4 separate regions of the Homo sapiens genome follow, and regions 2, 3 and 4 are each linked to region 1. Evidence: promoter capture Hi-C in 16 types of primary human blood cells and fetal thymus (Javierre and others, 2016). All regions are on one chromosome and are shown on one strand. The core of a region is centred on a gene start or on the middle of the fragment in contact, and the rest is flanking DNA. Distances in the headings are between cores, read along the strand shown.

The links. Contacts are between HindIII fragments. The CHiCAGO score rates a contact against its expected background, and 5 or more counts as called.
Region 2: a fragment that was not itself captured here is called in contact with the fragment with the promoter of SMDT1 in region 1 in 2 of 17 cell types (activated CD4 T cells and neutrophils); the score reaches 5.4 in activated CD4 T cells.
Region 3: a contact is called between a fragment that was not itself captured here and the fragment with the promoter of SMDT1 in region 1, in 11 of 17 cell types (M2 macrophages, M0 macrophages, endothelial precursors and 8 more). The highest score is 11.2, in M2 macrophages.
Region 4: a fragment that was not itself captured here is called in contact with the fragment with the promoter of SMDT1 in region 1 in 1 of 17 cell types (naive B cells); the score reaches 5.2 in naive B cells.

Annotation. Positions count from the first base shown.
Region 1 is chr22:42,076,944-42,081,374 of GRCh38, reverse strand. SMDT1 (single-pass membrane protein with aspartate rich tail 1) reads right to left here and starts at 1,675. Exons shown (of 3, transcript NM_033318.5): 1 at 1,421-1,675. The coding sequence starts at 1,606. It overlaps PHETA2 (PH domain containing endocytic trafficking adaptor 2), which reads right to left. Exons shown (of 3, transcript NM_001002034.3): 3 at 1,937-4,095. The coding sequence starts at 4,081. The coding sequence ends at 3,302. RefSeq lists enhancers at 1,158-1,930, 3,171-3,733 and a silencer at 1,956-2,250. The HindIII fragment of the contact is 3,809 bases long and covers 1-1,952 here.
Region 2 is chr22:42,374,710-42,379,193 of GRCh38, reverse strand. No RefSeq gene overlaps it. Among named protein-coding and RNA genes, the nearest start is that of LINC01315, 7.7 kb to the right of the region's middle. The HindIII fragment of the contact is 4,953 bases long and covers 1-4,484 here.
Region 3 is chr22:42,472,404-42,477,121 of GRCh38, reverse strand. No RefSeq gene overlaps it. Among named protein-coding and RNA genes, the nearest start is that of NFAM1, 42 kb to the right of the region's middle. The HindIII fragment of the contact is 2,851 bases long and covers 1,973-4,718 here.
Region 4 is chr22:41,691,715-41,696,497 of GRCh38, reverse strand. It overlaps the pseudogene C22orf46P. Among named protein-coding and RNA genes, the nearest start is that of SNU13, 5.2 kb to the right of the region's middle. The HindIII fragment of the contact is 7,463 bases long and covers 1-4,783 here.

The DNA.
Region 1 (4,431 bases), core at 426-2,925:
GCTAACATAGTGAAACCCCGTCTCTACTAAAAATACAAAAAATTAGCCGGGTGTGGTGGTACATGCCTGTAGTCCCAGCTACTCAGAAGGCTGAGGCAGAAGAATCACTTGAACCCGGGAGGCGGAGGCTGCAGTGAGCCAAGATTGTGCCACTGTACTCCAGCCTGGGTGACAGAGTGAGACTCCGTCTCAAAAAAAAAAAAAAGGAGATAAGGTGACTGTTATGGCCATCAAAATGGACGAAAAGTCCACTGGAAAGAAAAGTCTAAGGCACCCTAGACATCTAAAGTTAGGACACAGCCTGCTAATTACTTTAAATCCCTACAGGCAATCGGGTGCACCAGTACTAGGAGGGCCAGACTACGGTGAGCTCTGCCTGAACACGAAATACACGAAAACCGATGACAGAAAGATGTACAGTGAAGGGATATTCTACACAGTTCACTAAGTAACAGGTTCCCTGATGCCTGAGAAATTTGATTTAAAAATTTTAGAAACAGATGTATTTGAAAGTGGGCATGTATTTACACTCAAAGACTTTAGATGGATTGGGAGAATGTCAGTAAAATCTCAGCAACATTTCTCTCGTATTCCTAGAATTAAAAAAATTTTTTTTTCAACTGTTTTGATAAGGCAGGTCTTTCCCAACATGGACCTACAGTCAATTGTGTGAGTTAGCATAGGCTAGACTAGCTTTAAGAGAATTTGTTTTTTTAACTCCCACACCACACAGCCCTGCAGTCGTAAAGCAAACTTTCGCTTGATATAAGGGACTGTTTCCGTTTTCCCTAGAAAAACTCAAGCATGTGATAGCGTTCAGTGTTGGAAAAAGACAGGACCTGGTGGGGACGGTACCAGGAAGAAACCCGGATGCTGCGTCCTCAGCGCTGGCCTTGGATACGAGCTTCACCGCTCTAGCCCGATTCTTCATTTGAAAACCCGTGATTGTAATAATTCCCTGCACATCTATCAGGACTGTAAATCACATGAATTAAATATTAGGTGACAACTAATAAAAAGATGAGGCCCGTCCCACGTACCCTTTATTTACAGAGTCCTTTCAAAATTCATATTTCATCCCATAAACTAGGAGACAGGCAGGGCAGAGATTACAGGACTGCTCTAAGCTAGAAGCACACGGCCTAGTCTTCTGACTCCAGAGGAGCAGAGCACCGCACCTCTCAGGACAAGCTAATGTAAAAGGCCAACTTCCTCAGCGTTTGCCCCCCATCTTCTGTCTACCTACCATTTTCTACACACCTGTCAAAATTAGCAACTCATTAGCGTATTCTTGGTCCGCCTTCCAGTCTACGGTAATCGTTATGATTGGCCTTGGCTCCTATCAATCAGCGCCGCCCTCACGCACTCCCCACAATGATTGGCCTCAGCCCCTTCGCCCCGTCTCCAGGAGGACACTCACTTTCACCGGTTTGGGCAAAATGGCGCCGCTGCGGGTAACGATGACTGACCTCGACGGTACCAGGCTCCGGCCTGAGCCGCTCCATGCGGCGGAGACATCGCCATCTTTCCTCAAGCTAGGCCCGCTCCGGAGAGCCCCGGACCTGACGGGTGCCAATACTAGCCAGCGAGCCGCTCCGGACGCCATGCCCCCAGCTCCGCCCCTCACCCGGGCACCCGCACCCCACCGCCCAGCCCTCGTGCCGCCCTCGGGAAGAAAGCCGCCCGAAGCCTCGCGAGAGTTTGAGGAGTACACGAGAAGCCCAGCCCTCCCACTCGCGCAGTGCCGGCGGCTCCTGGGGCGGCGGGAGGGAGGTGTTTGTCACTGGCCGGCATGGTGGCGTCACGAGAGTGGCGGCGCAGCCCCGGCTCCCTCAGTCCGCGTCCTGCTGGGCGTGGCCGCGGTCTTGGGTCCGCCCGGCCGTCAGAACAGGCCTCAGCGGCCGGTTGTGGAAATAAACCCAGGGAGCGGAAGGAGTAATAACGAAAAAGCTTTACTAGTGTTTTAACCGTGTACAAAACACTGTAGCAATAAGAGAAAGGCCCGTGCTATCTGTGTTTAAACAAAATGCAGTGGCTGCGGGGCTTCCAGGCAGGGCTGGGGAACAGGCCGGGCGCCCGCCTTGGGCGCATCTCCGCCTCTTAGGGGTAAGAGGCTCAGAGCCTACCCCTTAGGCCTAGTTGGATGCGGGTCGGTCCTGCCCAAGGCCCCAGTGAGGGGAGCCGAGGCTAGGAAGGGGCAAGTTTTATGTGTTTGGGAGGGGGTGTCTCTTCCCGGCCTCTGCGTCTTCCCCCTGGAGCGTCAGTATGGTCAGGCTCTGGTGACCCAGCCGCTTTGCCTCCCGACTTTGGGAAGAGTAGCAAGGAGAGGTCCTGGCAAGTACACCCTGGGTGACAAACGGCTATGAGAGTTCCCAGGTGATTTCTCGAGCAGCTTCAGTTTACCGGAGCCCAGCCAGGAGAGAGAATTTTAGCACAGGAAACGCAATCCCGTGTCCAAGCTCCTAGAATACCCAGGACTGAGAACCAAAGCAACAGACTTTTCCCAGGGAGCCACACTGCCTCCCCACCTCTTCTTTAACCCCTCACTTGGCAGCTCCAGGAGTTGGCTGCTGAAGACAGAGTACAGGAGGGCATTTCGTTGACGTAAAAAAGCTACAAGCCCCTTCCGGGGCAAGGTCCAGCACCATCTGTTAACAGGGCAGCCAGGGAGAAAGGATGGGACCCCAGCACTCTGAGCAGAATAAATCTCTCTTCACTGGCCGAAGACCCTCTGCCTCAAAGGGCCCTACCCAGACTGCTGAGTGAGGATCCCATCCCCAATCTTCCCACCCCTCTCAGGAAGAGCTGGGTCCCAGAAACTCCTATGACACAATAAATCCACTTTCTCTGACAGTGTCAGAGCTTCAAGCCGATACTGCAGCCTACCTCGGATTTAAGTGCACAGGAGACTCCCCAGGTTGGAAATTATGGCTCTAGAGCCCGGTGTGTAGGCCAAAGGTATGGCAAGCCTGTGACAGTCTCGGGTGACATTCCCCACTTCCTTCATTTCATTAACATCCCCTGGGAGGGGGCAGTCAGGCCAGTGCAGTCAGGAGATTGGGGTCTTGCTCTGTGGCTGCTAAGTCTCCTTCCTTCTCTGGACCTCAGGAAATAAAGAGGATGGAAGGAATGGTCCCGCAGTCCCTTCCAGACACACGGGTGGATCTCGAACCTGGAGAATGCCTAAATAGCAGGAAGGAGAGAACCCATGTCCCCTCCCAAAACGCAACCTTGGAAATGGGTAAACATTTAACTCCTGAAAAAGAACTGGCCCTGGTTTCCTGACTCAAAGGGCCCAGACTTAGGGCCTATCCTGTTCCTCACATTTTGAGTGGCTCCCCTGGGCCCTCTTCTGCCAACACTGCCGCAGCTCCACGATCTCCTGGCCATACCAGTCATGCAGGGTAGAGAAGCAGGAGGTCTCAGGGGACACAGGGCTCTGCCCCTTGCCTAGGAGGAGGCTGGCAGGGCCCTGCAGCTCCCACTCAGCCAACCCCCACCCTGCAGACCTGCTGCCCGCTTCTTCAACCAAGCCCACAGGGCTGCTGTCCTTGGAGAGGCAGTGGCCATTCTCCAGGCCCGCAGCTCGGTGGTTAGGAGCCTGGGGCTTACAGCGGCTGGCAACAGACTTCCAGGATGAGCGGCGTTGCAAAGCCAGGCTCTGGCGTGCGTCCTGCAACTGGCTCTCCAACTCGCGTACCACCAGGCGCATGTAGCCAAAGCTTGCCCGGGACAGCACCTTCACCCAGGCCTCCTGGGCCGCCGGCCCTTCTGCGGCCAGCAGGTGTGGGCGCACTCCAGGGGCATCAAAGCAGATGGCAAAGGCAAACTCCTCGGGCACGGGAGCCTCGGCCAGTTCCACTGTGCAGCCTTCCAGCACCACCAGGCTCAGTGGGGCCCGGCCCTCGCGACTCTCAAAGGAGAATAGCAGGTTGCCCTTGAGGACAAACCAGCATCTTCGGCCAGTGCCACTGGGGGTCGGTGGGGTCCCTGGGCCCCCCCAGGTGCGCAGGAAGCCCATGTGGTCCGCTGGGGAGTCGCTGAGTGCATAGTGGGCTACACTCCTCTCGTTCAGCTTCATGGCTCCCACGGGAACTGTGAGGCAAGAGAGATGGCAGCAGATCAGAGAGGGAGGTGGTTCCGTGCCCTCCTGGGGAACAGCACCGGCTCCAGAGGCAACCTGGACCCCAGCCCTGGGACTCCTACTCGCTTGCTGTGTCCCTAAGGTCCCTAAAGTCTCCTGAGAAGTGGGCTCGTCTTTCCTTCCTTTTCTCTCAAAGGGATGTCGTGAGGATCATGCAAAAAAAACTGGACACTGGCGGACTTCGAGAAAAGAATAACGAGATTGCATCAGACAGGAGGCATGGCAGGACCTGGGCACGGCTTTCTAAAATCCAAAGAAACAGGCCCCAGCTGAGCTGAAATGGACCC
Region 2 (4,484 bases), core at 1,142-3,641, 300 kb before region 1:
TATATCTGGAGTGGGTTTTATTTTACCACTTTGAGGACCTTGAGGGGCCGAGGAGTGGGGGCATTTTCTCTGTCTCTCCCTTGACTGCCCCATCCCCATCCCCCAGTGAGTTCCACAGGCCCAAGTGGGCCAGATCCTGGCCTTGGCTCAGGACATAGCCCTGTACCTTGCTGCCCGCCATGGGCTGATCCAGGGATGTCTCTTCTCCCCAGATGCCCCTTCTGTCCCCCTGCCATCAAGTCCACCCATAAGAGCCTCCCTCCAACCCCTCCTCCTCCCAGCCATTCCCAGTCCAAACAAGTCTCACCTGATCTTTCTATAATACATATCTGACCACATGATTCCTCTCTCAAAAGCCTGCCATACCTTATGGTAATGGTCAATTCATTCCAACAAGGGGGCCACCATCATTCAATGGGGAACAGTCTTTTCAACAATTGGTGCTGGGAGAGCCAAACCTCTACATGACCCCTACCTCACACCCTATACCAAAACTCACAGTGGTTTCCACTGTCCATAGGATCGGGGCTCAACCCCTTAGTCTCACATTCAGGGCTCTTACCACTCCTACCACTCCTTCACTTTTTTTTTTCTTTTCTTCTTTCTTTCTTTCTTTTTTTTTTTTTGAGATGGAGTCTCTCTGTGAGGCCCAGGCTGGAGTGCAGTGGTGTGATCTGGGCACACTGCAATCTCCACCTCCTGGGTTCAAGCAATTCTTCTGCCCCAGCCTCCCGAGTAGCTGGGACTACAGGCACGTGCCACCAGGCCCAGCTAATTTTTTTTGTATTTTTAGTGGAGATGGGGTTTCACCATATTGGCCAGGCTGGTCTCAAACTCCTGACTTCAAGAAATCCACCTACCTCGGCCTCCCAAAATGCTGGGATTACAGGTGTGAGCCACTATGCTTGGCTTTTTTTTTTTTTTTTTTTTTTTTTTTTTTTTGAGACAGGGTTTCCCTCCTATCACCCAGGCTGGAGTGCTGTGGTGCAATCTTGGCTCACTGCAACCTCTGTCTCCCAGGTTCAAGCAATTCTCCTGCCTCAGCTTCCCAAGTAGCTGGGATCACAGATGAGTGCCACCACGCCTGGCTAATTTTTTGTATTTTTAGTAGAGACAGGGTTTCACCACGTTGGCCAGGATGGTCTCAAACTCCTGACCTCAAGTGATCCGCCTGCCTCAGCCTCCCAAATTGCTGGGATTACAGGTGTGAGCCACCACACCTGGCCATCCTTCATTCTTTTAACAACATTTGTCCCGCTCCAACTATGTGTCAAGCCCAGTGCTGTGGCTGGAATAAGAAATGGACAGTCCTGTCTTCATGGAGTCCACCAGCTCATTTCTGATTGGCTCCTACTGGCCCAAAGTCACCCCAGCTCCATTCATGCTTCCATCTATGGCTGCTGTTCCCCAAGATGCTGAGCTCCCCACCTCTGAGTCTGGGCTCCTACCATTCTCCCTGCCCTGAGGACCTGCACCCTATTCTTTGCCTGAGGAATTCCTGCTCAAATGCTACCTCCAGCTGGGCACAGTGGCTCACGCCTACAATCCCACCACTTTGGGAGGCCAAGGCAGGCAGATCACCTCACGTCAGGAGTCGGAGACCAGCCTAGCCAACATGGCAAAACCCCATCTCTACTAAAAATACAAAAATTAGCCGGGTGTGGTGGCACATACCACAGATATCAGCCACAGAGTAAAACTCCATCTCAAAAAAAAAAAAAAATGCTACCTCCACTGTGAAGTCTTCCTTAAAGCCCCCTCCCACACCAAGCAGTTTACTGAATCCTCTCATTTCTTTGACCTCTTCAAACTGAATCAGTTCACACACATCCATCTCCCCCCAGAATTCCCGTGTTTCCCAAGCATGGCAAACACCTCATTTGTCTCTCTTTGTCTGTGCCTGACTCACAGTAGGGGCTTAGGAGCTGTTTGTTCAAAAAATAAAGGAGTCTTTTCCTTTGCTGTTGATTCAACACCTGTTCTTAGTGAAAAAGGGATAATTTTTTTTTTTATTTCCAGGAAGTGATCTTTAATTAGTATATGACCCATTTTACATATGTGAAAATTGAGGCAGACTGTTGCTGCACCCACAACACCAGGAGAAGCAAGGCAATAAGAAGTGCAGGCTCTGGAAGGCCGGCAGCCTCCGCCTAATGGGGAGGGCGGGGAGGCTCTGTGCTGAGCTGTTGGAGGCGAGGCCAGGCACAGGGGAAAGGCCGACATCCCCCTCCCCCACCTCCTTTCAATTCCTGGCTGCCAAGGCTGTCAAGAGGCTCTGAGGACACGTGCCTGCGTCAGGGGCCATGAGCCCTGTTAGGGTGGTTCTGCTAATTGATCCCAGAAGCCCTTGTGACTGCCAGGGGATGCCTCAGCGGACTCAGCAATGTCCTGACCGCTACCTCTCGCCTCACCAGATGGCCTCCCTCCTGCCTCAGCTGCCTCTAGGCCAGGCCACATGTCCCTGATCATTCAGGGCCTGAGACTCCCCCAAGTAGCCAGCAGAACAGAGCCCGGCCAGGGGTGGTGGCGGGGGTGTGTGGGGAGCACTGGAGAAGCTCCTTTTTTTCTGTGTCTCTCTGGCTGATTGGATGGTTTTCCAAAAAGAAAAATTTTAATGTGTTTTCGGTTTGGTTTTTTTTTTTTTTTTTTTTTTTTGAGACAGGGTCTCACTCTGTCATCCAGGCTGGAGTGCAGTGGTGCGATCACAGCTCACTGCAGCCTCAACCTCTGTGCTCCAGCGGTCCTCTACCTCAGCCTCCGGAGTAGCTGGCACTACAGGTGCGCACCATCACACCTGGCTAATTTTTTGTATTTTTCATAGAGACCGGGTTTTGCCGTGTTGCCCAGGCTGGTCTCAAACTCCTGAGCTCAAGCGATCCTGCCACCTTGGCCTCCCAAATGCTGGGATTACCGGCATAAGCCATTGCTGCTTAGCCAGCACTCAGCCTCAAATGCCCCCACAACTTCCTCCAGCAGCCCCACAATCTCCTGCCCCTTATGGGTGGGGAACCCTGGCATGTCATGTGACGGGGGTGGAGTCAGGAGAGCTGCTGTCCTTCCTGACCCATTGGGACAAGTCTGTGCAGCTGAGTCCCAGGGATAAGGGTAGGACCCACAGCCAAGTGACCAGTTCCAGAAATAGAGATGGTCATTGTGGTGCTCAAGGCACCCCTGCCTTCTTCCTGGGTTCAAGCCTGGAGCTCAAGATTGGAGTTCAAGGTTGCAGAGAGCTTTAGAACTGCTAATGGGGGCCAGGCGCAGTGGCCCACGCCTGGCCAACATGGGTGAAACCCTATCGCAACTAAAAATACAAAAATTATCCAGACAGCCGGGCACGGTGGCTCACGCCTGTAATCCTAGCACTTTGGGAGGCCAAGGCAGGTGGATCATCGAGGTCAGGAGTTCGAGACCAGCCTGGCCAACATGGTGAAACCATATCTCTACTAAAAATATAAAAATTAGCTGGGCGTGATGGTGGGCGCCTATAATCCCAGCTACTCAGGAGGCTGAGGCAGGAGAATTGCTTGAACCCAGGAGACTGAGGTTGCAGTGAGCCGACAGGGTGCCACTGCCCTCCAGCCTGGGCGACAGAGTGAGACTCTGTCTCAAAAAAAAAAAAAAAAAAAAAGAACTGCTGGCCGGGCACGGTGGCTCACACCTGTAATCAGCACTTTGGGAGGCCAAGGTGGGCGGATCATGAGGTCAGGAGATCGAGACCATCCTGGCTAACACGGTGAAACCCCACCTCTACTAAAAATACAAAAAATTAGCCGGGCGTGGTGACGGGTCCGTGTAGTTCCAGCTACTTGGGAGGCTGAGGCAGGAGAGTGGCGTGAACCCGGGAGACAGAGCTTGCAGTGAGCCGAGATAGCGCCATTGCACTCCAGCCTGGGCGACAGAGCAAGACTCTGTCTCAAAAAAAAAAAAAAAAAAAAGAACTGCTAATGGGTATGGGGATTTTTTATGAGGTAATGGAAATGTTCTGGAATGCGACAGCAGTGATGGTTACGCAACCTCTTGAATATGCTAAAATCCATTGAATTGTACACTTTAAAAGGGTAAATTTATAATATGTGAATTGCATTTCAATAACACAAAACAAAAATAAACCAAAAAAAATTGCCCTACTTAAACACTTTCTGTTGTCCCCTGTTCATTACCCTTAGGACAGAGCACACACACACTTCCCTGGGACGTGGTTCAGCTTCTTCCTCCACCCAGCCTGCCCTGCCCGTACCCTTTCCTGCCCTTCCTCCTTTCCTCCTACAGAAGGGCCCTGCTGGGGCCTCTTTCAAGGTCCAGGCTCTGGCGCATGAAACTCCCTCTACCTGTCAGATGGTTAAATGCCTATTCAGTTTTTATCTGTGGCAATAAGTAGGCATTGATCTCATTTCACAGATGAGGAAACTGAGCCTTAAAAAGATATAACAACTCGCCCAAAGTCACCTAGCTGGCAGATGGTGCAGTTGAGATTCAGGCCCCAG
Region 3 (4,718 bases), core at 2,149-4,648, 390 kb before region 1:
ATTTTTAGTAGAGACGAGGTTTCACCATGTTGGCCAGGCTGGTCTCGAACTCCTGACCTCAAGTGATCTGCCCTCCTCGGCCTCCCAAAGTTCTGGGATTACAGGTGAGAGCCACCACGCTTGGCCCAGCATAGTTCTTAATAGTGCCACTTTCACTCCTGAATGGCCCTGGTTTGGATGCATCAACCTAAAGAAACTGAGGTCAAATTAACATAGGTAGAGAGTTTATTTTGGGCCAAAGCTGAGGACTACGGCCTCAGACACACTGGGAAGTGCCCTGGAGAACAAAGGAGAGACTGGAGTTTTTAAAGAAAAAAGGATCGGGCTGGACGTGGTGCCTCACGCCTGTAATCCTAGCATTTTGGGAGGCCGAGGTGGGTGGATCACTTGAGATCAGGAGTTCAAGACCAGCCTGGCCAAACATGGTGAAACCCTGTCTCTACTAAAAATACAAAAATTAGCTGGGCATGGTGGCACGTGCCTGTAATCCCATCTACTCAGGAGGCTGAGGCAGGAGAATTGCTTCAACCTGGGAAGCGGAGGTTGTAGTTAGCCAAGATTACGCCATTGCACTCCAGCCTGGGGGACAAGAGTGAAACTCTGTCTTGAAAAAAAAAAAAGAAGGAAAGGAAAAAGGATGAATCAGGCTGAGCACAGTGGCTCACACCTATAATCCCAGAAGTTTTGGGAGGCTGAGGTGGGAGGATTGCTAGAACTCAGGAGCTGGAGACCAGCCTGGGCAACATAGTGAGATCCCTATCTCTATTTAAAAAAAATCAGCCGGGCATGGTGGTGTGTGCCTGTAGTCCCAGCTACTTGGGAGGCTGAGGCAGGAAGATCGCTTGAGCCTGGGAGATGGGGGCTGCAGTGAGCCACAATCACATCACTGCACTTTAGCCTGGGCCATAGAGCAGGAACCTGTCTCAAGGAAAAAAAAAAAAGTATGAAACAGGAGAGAAGCGATTACAGAAGTTATGTTACAGGAATTCTCATTGGTTTATTGAAATCACATTGATTAGAGTATGAGTTATGGTATCCAGCGAATGGCATGGTTAGGTTAATTTATGGCTGTTGGTGTTGATAGTCAGTCTAGGGTCCCAATAGCAGGTGGCTTTAGGGGCGGGTGGGGGAGGGGGCTTGTAACTGCCATCACATTTCAATGCCTCTCTGGGCCTGATGATTTAAAGGGGGCTCTCGGCAGGGCACAGTGGCTCACGCTTGTAATCCCAGTACTTTGGGAGGCCGAGGTAGCAGGGGATCACCTGAGGTCAGGAGTTTGAGACCAGCCTGGCCAACATGGCGAAACCCCATCTCTACCAAAAAATACAAAAATTAGCCAGGCCTGGTGGCGGGCACCTGTAACCCTAGCTACTCAGGAGGCTGAGGCAGGAGAATTGCTTGAACCTGGGAGGCAGAGGTTGCAGTGAGCTGAGATTGCACTACTGCACTCCAGTCTGGGCGACAGAGTGAGACTCCTTCACAAAAAAACTAAAATATAATAAAACAAAGTCAGCTAATTAGCAAACTTCATTTCATCTTCAACCTTCATTCCCTCTTGCCACGTAACATAACATATTCACAGGTACCAGGGATTAGGACATGGACATCTTGGGGGAGGCATCATCCTGCTACCACAGTGAGGATGCTACTTTGAACAGGGTGGTCAGGGAGGGCTTCTGTGAGTAGCTGGCATTGAAAGGAAGATCTGAAGCATAAGAAGGAGCTGACAACATCAAGTGGCAGCTTCTCAGGCAGAGGGAGTGCCACGTGCAAAGGCCCCGGGGCAGAGAAGAGATGGGTGTGTTTAGGAGCAGGTGGGATCTAGAGTGGCTACAGCACACTAAGGGGAAGAGTGACCCCAGGTGAGGCTCAGAGGGAGGCTGGGATCAGATAGTGCAGGTGCACTGGTTTTCTCTCCCAGCCTAGGTCATCATAATTAGTGTGATTTCCATGCCATTGTCAAACACAAGCTTGATTCTGTGTGTGAGATGGCTGTGTTTTAACAATGTGTGATTCTTGTAGATTTGTTCACGAAGTTGTTTGAGATCTGGCTGTAAGACACAGGCAATTGTTACCCATTCATAAGGTCACTTTTTCTTTTTTTTTTTGAGACAGAGTCTCACTCTATTGGAGTGACTGGTGCGATCTCGGCTCACTGCAACCTCCACTTCCTGGGTTCAAGTGATTCTCCTGCGTCAGCCTCCAGAGTAGCTGGGATTACAGTTGTGCACCACCACACCTGGCTAATTTTTGTATTATTAGTAGAGATGGGGTTTCACCGTGTTGGTCATACTGGTCTCGAACTCCTGACCTCAGGTGATCCACCTGCCTCGGCCTCCCACAGTGCTGGAATTACAGATGTGAACCACCACGCCCAGCCCCAGTCACCTTTTAAATTTACTGAATAGACTGATTCATCCTTCTAAGAGAAGGGATAGCCAGGTGCAGTGGCTCACACCTGTAATCCCAGCACTTTGGGAGTCTGAAGTGGGTGGATCTCTTGAGCCCAGGAGTTTGAGACCAGCCTGGGCAACATGGTGAAATCCTGTCTCTACAAAAAATTAGCTGGACGTGGCTGGGCGCGGTGGCTCACGCCTGTAATCCCAGCACTTTGGGAGGCTGAGGAGGGCAGATCACGAGGTTAGGAGATCAAGACCATCCTGGCTAACACGGTGAAACCCCATCTCCACTAAAAAAAAAAAAAATACAAAAAATTAGCTGGGCATGGTGGCAGGCACCTGTAGTCCCAGCTACTCGGGAGGCTGAGGCAGGAGAATGGCGTGAACCCAGGAGGCAGAGCTTGCAGTGAGCCGAGATATAGCCACTGCACTCCAGCCTGGGTGATAGAGCAAGACTCCGGCTCAAAAAAAAAAAAAAAATTAGCTGGACGTGGTGGTGCATGCCTGTAGTCCCAGCTTCTCGGGAGGCTGAGGCAGGAGGATTCACACCCAGGAGGCGGAGGTTGCAGTGAGCTGAGATCGTGTCACTACACTCCAGTCTGGGTGACAGCACGCAACTCTGTCTCAAAAATAAATAAATAAATAAATAAATAAATAAATAAATAAATAATAAATAAATAAATAAAAATGGTAACCCTAGTTTGCATAATGGTTTTGAGCTATGAACCTAGACTTAAAGGGAATACATTGAATAAATCGAATGACCATGGAGAATTAGATGAGACCTGTTGTAACCAAGTGACTTGTTTTCTTATTTTGTGTATTTGGGTCTCAACTTCCCCAAAGAAATTTATCCAGGTGTGGCATGTAGTATTAGCAATAGCACAGACATTTCCTTATCCAACCAATAAATAATATAGAGCAAATTCATCATCTAGTATCCCACAACTGGGATGCATTAAAGCCGAGTGAACAACAGTTCTATTAGGGATGTTGCCAAAGTTACCCACTAGGTGGCCTAAAGGATCTCTTAGGTCAGGTTCTGTCAAGTTACCAGCAGAAGCTACTGATTGGGAAGTTTCAGTTGCATCATTATCCTGCCAAGTGGAAAAAATTGGCATAAGCAGGGAAGAATTAAGAGGGACAAGAGGCTCATGATGGGGACTCTTGTTCTGTTGTCTTGGGAAAAGCCACCCACAGCATGAAGCCATCAACTGCTTGTCCTGGTTTACAGTTAGACTGTCTCTGCTCATGGCATGAGGCAGTCCAGTGAACTTTCTATATGGTCCATAGATCACACACAAGACTCATCCCTTAAAATTCATTTAGTTTCAGCTTATAGTGCCTTAGGAACAGAGCAATTCCCATTCTTAGTATTCTATGGAAGAAAGTTGGATTGGAGGAACCAAAAATAATTTAGGGTCAGGTGGGTACGGTGGCTCACGCCTGTAATCCCAGCATCCCGTGCACGCCTCAACCAGGGTAAAAATCTTTATGCTGTATGCAGGCAGATGTGCACAGAAATAGAACTAAAAATGGTCTATAACTGATTCCCTTGAGCTCGCAAGTCCCCACTCTTGCTCACGGCAAAAGAGAGAAAGGAAATAACACCAGGAACATGCTCATCAGAGCTAACTCAGCCTCTTCAGTCTTCCAAAACTCCCTTCCTCATTAACGCGTCAAGATTAAAGTTCAAGTTCAGGTTCAAGTTCCGATCAAGTGTCTCTCCCTGCTCCTTTCTGAGATGCTGCTAGGGTGCGGGGTAACTAGGGCACCCTCCTGGCTCCTGCCTCTCAGCCATGGCCAGGGCGGTTCCTGGACCTTCCGTCCTGGTGTCCACGAGGCGATACCATCATGCATTATTCTCAACCTCCAGCCCAGGGCTCCCAGCCTGGCCTCTGTACCCCAATCTCAGTCTTTTGATTCATCAGGGCCTGGGCTGCTTTTCCCACTCCACACTAGAGAGTGTAGGCTGGGTGTAGCCTCACACTAGATCTGTGAGGCTGCCTTCCAGGCCACTGTCCTAGACCCTTTCCTGGCCATTTCCAAAGCATGCCTGAGCAGCCCCTGTCGTTCTGCTGCCATGCTCACCGCAGGCCTTGCTACCACTGTGTTAACCCCGAGGAGGGAATCAGGACGCTGACATCTGATCTCCTGTGTCTTCCTACTGATGGGAACTTCCCTAAGTCACACCTTCAGACCCTGTGCACTGCTTATAATCCAAGTCCAGGATTCTGTTATTTACGTCTTAAAGCAGAGCCTTTGGAATTTAGAAAATCTCTTTTTTCTCTGAAAGCTCAGTTTCAAGACTACCGAATC
Region 4 (4,783 bases), core at 899-3,398, 390 kb after region 1:
TCCCGGGTCCCACATCCATAGCCAGTGAAGGCTGGAGGCCATGGTAGGCTGTGCTTCCTGCCTGTGGGCCTCTCACTCCCAGAACAGTCGACTTGGAGACTGTCCCTCACAGCATCCTCTCCTCTGACCAGATCCTTGTTTCCTCCCCTTGGTGCTCGAGGCTCTCCAACATCCTCATCTGTGCACTTTCTCTGGCTTCCTATATCCTGGAGTTCTGCAACATCCTCAACTCCACCGTCATTCTTATTTCCTTGCCCTTGTACCTGGATCTCTTCAGCAATTTCAACTCTTAACTGTCCCTGGTCATCTCCTGCAGGAGCCTGGGTCTCTGTACCATCATCAGCTGTGGTCCCTCTCAGGTTTCTCTTCCCCTGTATTTGAATTTCTTCATCATTCCCACCTCCACCCTGTTCCTGGTTCTTCCACTCTGATAAACGGGTCTTTCCATTATCTTTACTTTTTAACAGTCTGTTTCTTCGCTCTAAGCCTCCAGTTTTTTCCCCTAAGCCTCCAGATCATTCTACCGTCCTCGTTTCCAACCTCTCTCTGGTTTCTCTTCTCTGATGCCTGATTTTCTGCAACATCCTTTCCAATCAGCTCCCAGTTCCTCCTCCCTGGTGAATGGCTCCCTCCAATTTCACTATCTAACTGGTCCTCGTTCTCTCTCTTAGGTCTCTGAGTCTTTACACCGTCCTCACCTCCAGGTTCTCTCTGGTTTCTCTCCACTGGAGCCTGAATTTCTGTTCCATTCTCACTTCCCATCTGCTTCTGGCTCTTCCACTCTGATAAAAGGATCTTTCTACCAAGATCACTTCTAAACTGACTCTGGGTTTCTTTCCCAGGTGCCCAGGTCTTTACACCGTCCTCACCTCCAACTTCTCTCAGGTTTCTCTTCCCTTGTATCTGAATTTCTGCCCCATTCTCACCTCCAATCTGCTGATCTTTCTTCCATTCTGCTGAATGCATTTCTCCATCAATTTGACTTGTTAATTTGCCCCAGTTCCCTGACTCAGATATCTGGGTATGTGCACCATCTTCGCCTCTAATATGTTCCTGATTCTTCCCCTTTGGTATGTGAATCTTTCCACTAAATTCATTTCCTAACTGACCCTGATTTTTCCTCCCAAGTTCCTGGGTGTCTTTATCATCCTCACCTTTAACCTCTCTCCTCCCTAGTGACTGAATGTCTGTACCATCCTCTTCTCTAAGTGGCTCATTGCTCTGAGTCTCCACATCAGTTTCACCTTTTAATTGTTCCTGGATCTCAGCCTCGGGTGCCAGGATATTTGTGCCATCCTCACATCCATCCTTTCTTTGGTCTCTCTTCTCTGATGCCTGAATTTCTGCTCTATGTTCACCTCCAATCCAGTTCTGATTCTCCCAACATAGTATCTCAAATTCTCTATAAATTTCACTTGCTACTTGTCTCCGGTTTCCCCACCATAGTGCCTGGATCACCACCCAATCCTTCTCTTATCTCCCTGAGCTTCTTCTTGGTAGCTATCTGGGTTTCCTTAGCATCTTCATCTCTTCTCAGGCCCTTATTTCCCCACCCCACTTGAATTTCATGACTTAATTGTTTCTGGTTCTCTCCCCCAGATGCTTGGGTCTTCTTAGCTTTCTTACTTCCACCTTGATCATGCTTCTCCCACCTTGGTGTCTGGATCTCTGTAACATTCCCATTTCCAACACATTCCTGTTTTCCCCAATCCAAGGCCTGGGTCTCTACACTATTCTCTTTTTTTACTTCTCCCACGTTCTCCCTCCCACATGATTGGGTTTGTGCAGCATCCTGACCTCCAACCTGATCCTTGTTTCTCCCCTCTTCCATCTGAATTTCCACATCCGCATCACCTTTCATCTGATCTTGTTTCTCCCACTGTGGTGTCTGGGTCTCCTCACCATTCTCATCTCCAGTCTGGCCTTGCTTCCCCAATCCTTGAGCCTGGATCTCTTCCCCATCCTCCTCTCCAGCCTCTTTCTTGTCCTTCTTCTCAAATGTCTGGGTCTCCACAGCATCCTCACTTCCATTCTTATCCTGGTTCTCCCACTCAGGTGTTTGGGTCTCTGCATCAATTTTACATCTTAACTGTTCTTGGTTCTCTCCCATATGTGCCTGGGTTTCAGGGAGATTCTCACCTCCAGCCTCCCTCTGGTTTCTATTCCCTAGTTCCTGAATGTTGGTTCTACTCTCAACTCCCATCCGGTCCTGGGTGTCCCACCCTGGTGTCAAGATCTCGCCATCAGTTTCACTTATTACTAGTCTCTGGTTTGCACACTCCAACACGTTAGTCTCTGCATCACCCTCCATTCCAAAGTCTACTGGGAACTACTCCCCAGATGCCTGGATTTCTGAAGCATCCTCCCGTCTGCTCCCTGTCTGGTTCACCCACCTTGGAGCCTGGGTCTCTCTACTATCCTCTCTGCCTGCTTTCTGGTTTTTACCCCCTGGTTCCCAGGCCTCTGGTCGACAGTGCCAAGACTTCCAAGTGCACATTCTCAGTGTTTGGTGGGAAGGATCAGGCAGGAGCTCTCTGGGGGCAGAACTGCAGCCTCTCAGCTGAAAGTAAGTTTGGAAGAGAGGTGGTTAAGGTCATGGAGGTGGGGCGAGACCTCACACTGATGACAGGCTCCAGTGACACCAACCTTTCCTGTGAGTGAAGCAGCAGCTGCTCCATCTCTTGACACATGTCCAAGGCAGGGCGAGTCTGACCATCATGGAGACACCAAGGCACCTGCCATGCTTTCCAGGAACTGTTCTGAGGCAGTAAACAGGTGTTTGAAATGGAGGTGGTACAAAAGATGGGCTCAGAGTGGGTGTGGACACCCGAAGGTGGGCCTGGACATGGGTGCTGTGGAGAGAGCAGGTTCTGGGCCCATGATTCCTGGAGGCTCCTCCGGTATCCCCATCTCTGCCTTTGTGCGCATTGTTGAGAATCTAGGCCCCTGGACTTTCCAGGACTGAAGAATTCAGGAGTCAGCTTGAAGACAGTTTCGCACCTCATGGAGGGCACTGCCCGCTTCTGCAGTGGCACCTGTAGATGAGAACAGAGAAGCAAAATCCTTGCACACATAATAACTTGCATAATCCGCACAGACAGAATAGTCAGGAAAGGCTTCTTGGAGGAAGTGACATTTGACTGGAGCCTGAATGAAGTAAGGGGCAAACCAAGTGACATCTGAGGAAAGAGCGTTGTAGGCAGAAGAGACATTAAGTACAAAGGCTTGAGGATGGAACAAAATTACATGTACAGGAACAGCAAAGAAGACTGTGTGGCCAGAATGGAACCAGTAATGAGGAGAGCACTGGGAGATAAGATCGGAGACAAACATGGGACAGATTATGCTGGTCCTTAGAGTCGTGATTAGGAGCGAGAATTTTATTCTGAGTTTGCCAGATAATGTAAGTATAGGAGCCATTGCAGGGTTTTGAGCAGCTAAGTGCTATGTTCTGTTTCTAAAAGTTTGTTCTGATGGCAGGGCATGGTGGCTCATGTCTGTAATCCCAGCACTTTGGGAGGCCAAGATGGGTGGATCACTTGAGGTCAGGAGTTCCAGACCAGCCTGGCCAACATGGCAAAACCCCTTCTCTACTAAAAATACAAAAATTAGCCAGCCATCATGGCGCATGCCTGTAATCCCAGCTACTCAGGAGGCTGAGGCACAAGAATTGCTTGAACCCAGGAGGCGGAGGTTGCAGTGAGCCAAGATCACGCCACTGCAGTCCAGCCTGGGTGACAGAGCGTGACTCCATCTGAAAAAAAAAAAAAAAGAAGAGGCTGGGTGCACTGGCTCACGCCTGTAATCCCAGCACTTTGGGAGGTCGAGGTGGGCGGATCACAAGGTCAGGAGATTGAGACCATCCTGGCTAACACGATGAAACCCCGTCTCTACTAAAAATACAAAAAAAAAAAAAAAATTGGCCAGGCATGGTGGCGGGCACCTGTAGTCCCAGCTACTCAGGAGGCTTAGGCAGGAGAATGGCATGAACCCGGGAGGTGGAGCTTTCAGTGGGCCGAGATCGCGCCACTGCACTCCAGTCTGGGTGACAGAGCAAGACTCCGTCTCAAAGAAAGAAAGAAAGAAAGAAAGAAATCCAGAGTCGACCAGGCGTGGTGGCTCACACCTGTAATCCCAACGCTTTGGGAGGCCAAGGTGGGTGGATCACTTGAGGTCAGGAGTTCGAGACCAGCCAGACCAACATGGTGAAACCCTGTGTCTACTAAAAATACAAAAATTAGCTGTGCGTGGTGGCACATGCCTGTAATCCCAGCTACTAGGGAGGCAGAGTCAAGAGAATCACTTGAACCTGGGAGGCAGAGGTTGCTGTGAGCCGAGATCGCACCACTGGACTTTAGCCTGGGCCACACAGCAAGACTCCATCTCAAAAAAAAAAAAAAAAGAAAAGAAAAAAAAGAAAAACAAGAAAGAAATCTGCAGAGTTGGCTAGGAGTGGTGGCTCATTCCTGTAATCCCAGCACTTTGGGAGGCCAAGGCAGGCGGATCACATAAGGACGGGAGTTCGAGACCAGCATGACTAACACGGAGAAACCTCGCCTCTACTAAAAATACAAAATTAACGGGTGTGGTAGTGCATGCCCATAATCCCAGCTACTCAGGAGGCTGAGGCAGGAGAATTGCTTGAACTTGGGAGGCAGAGGTTGAGGTAAGCCGAGATCACACCATTGCACTCCAGCCTGGGCAACAAGAGCAAAACTGCATCTCAAAAAAAAAAAAAGGAAAAGAAAAGGAAATCCGCAGAGTTGTGACTAAAACTTCTGGG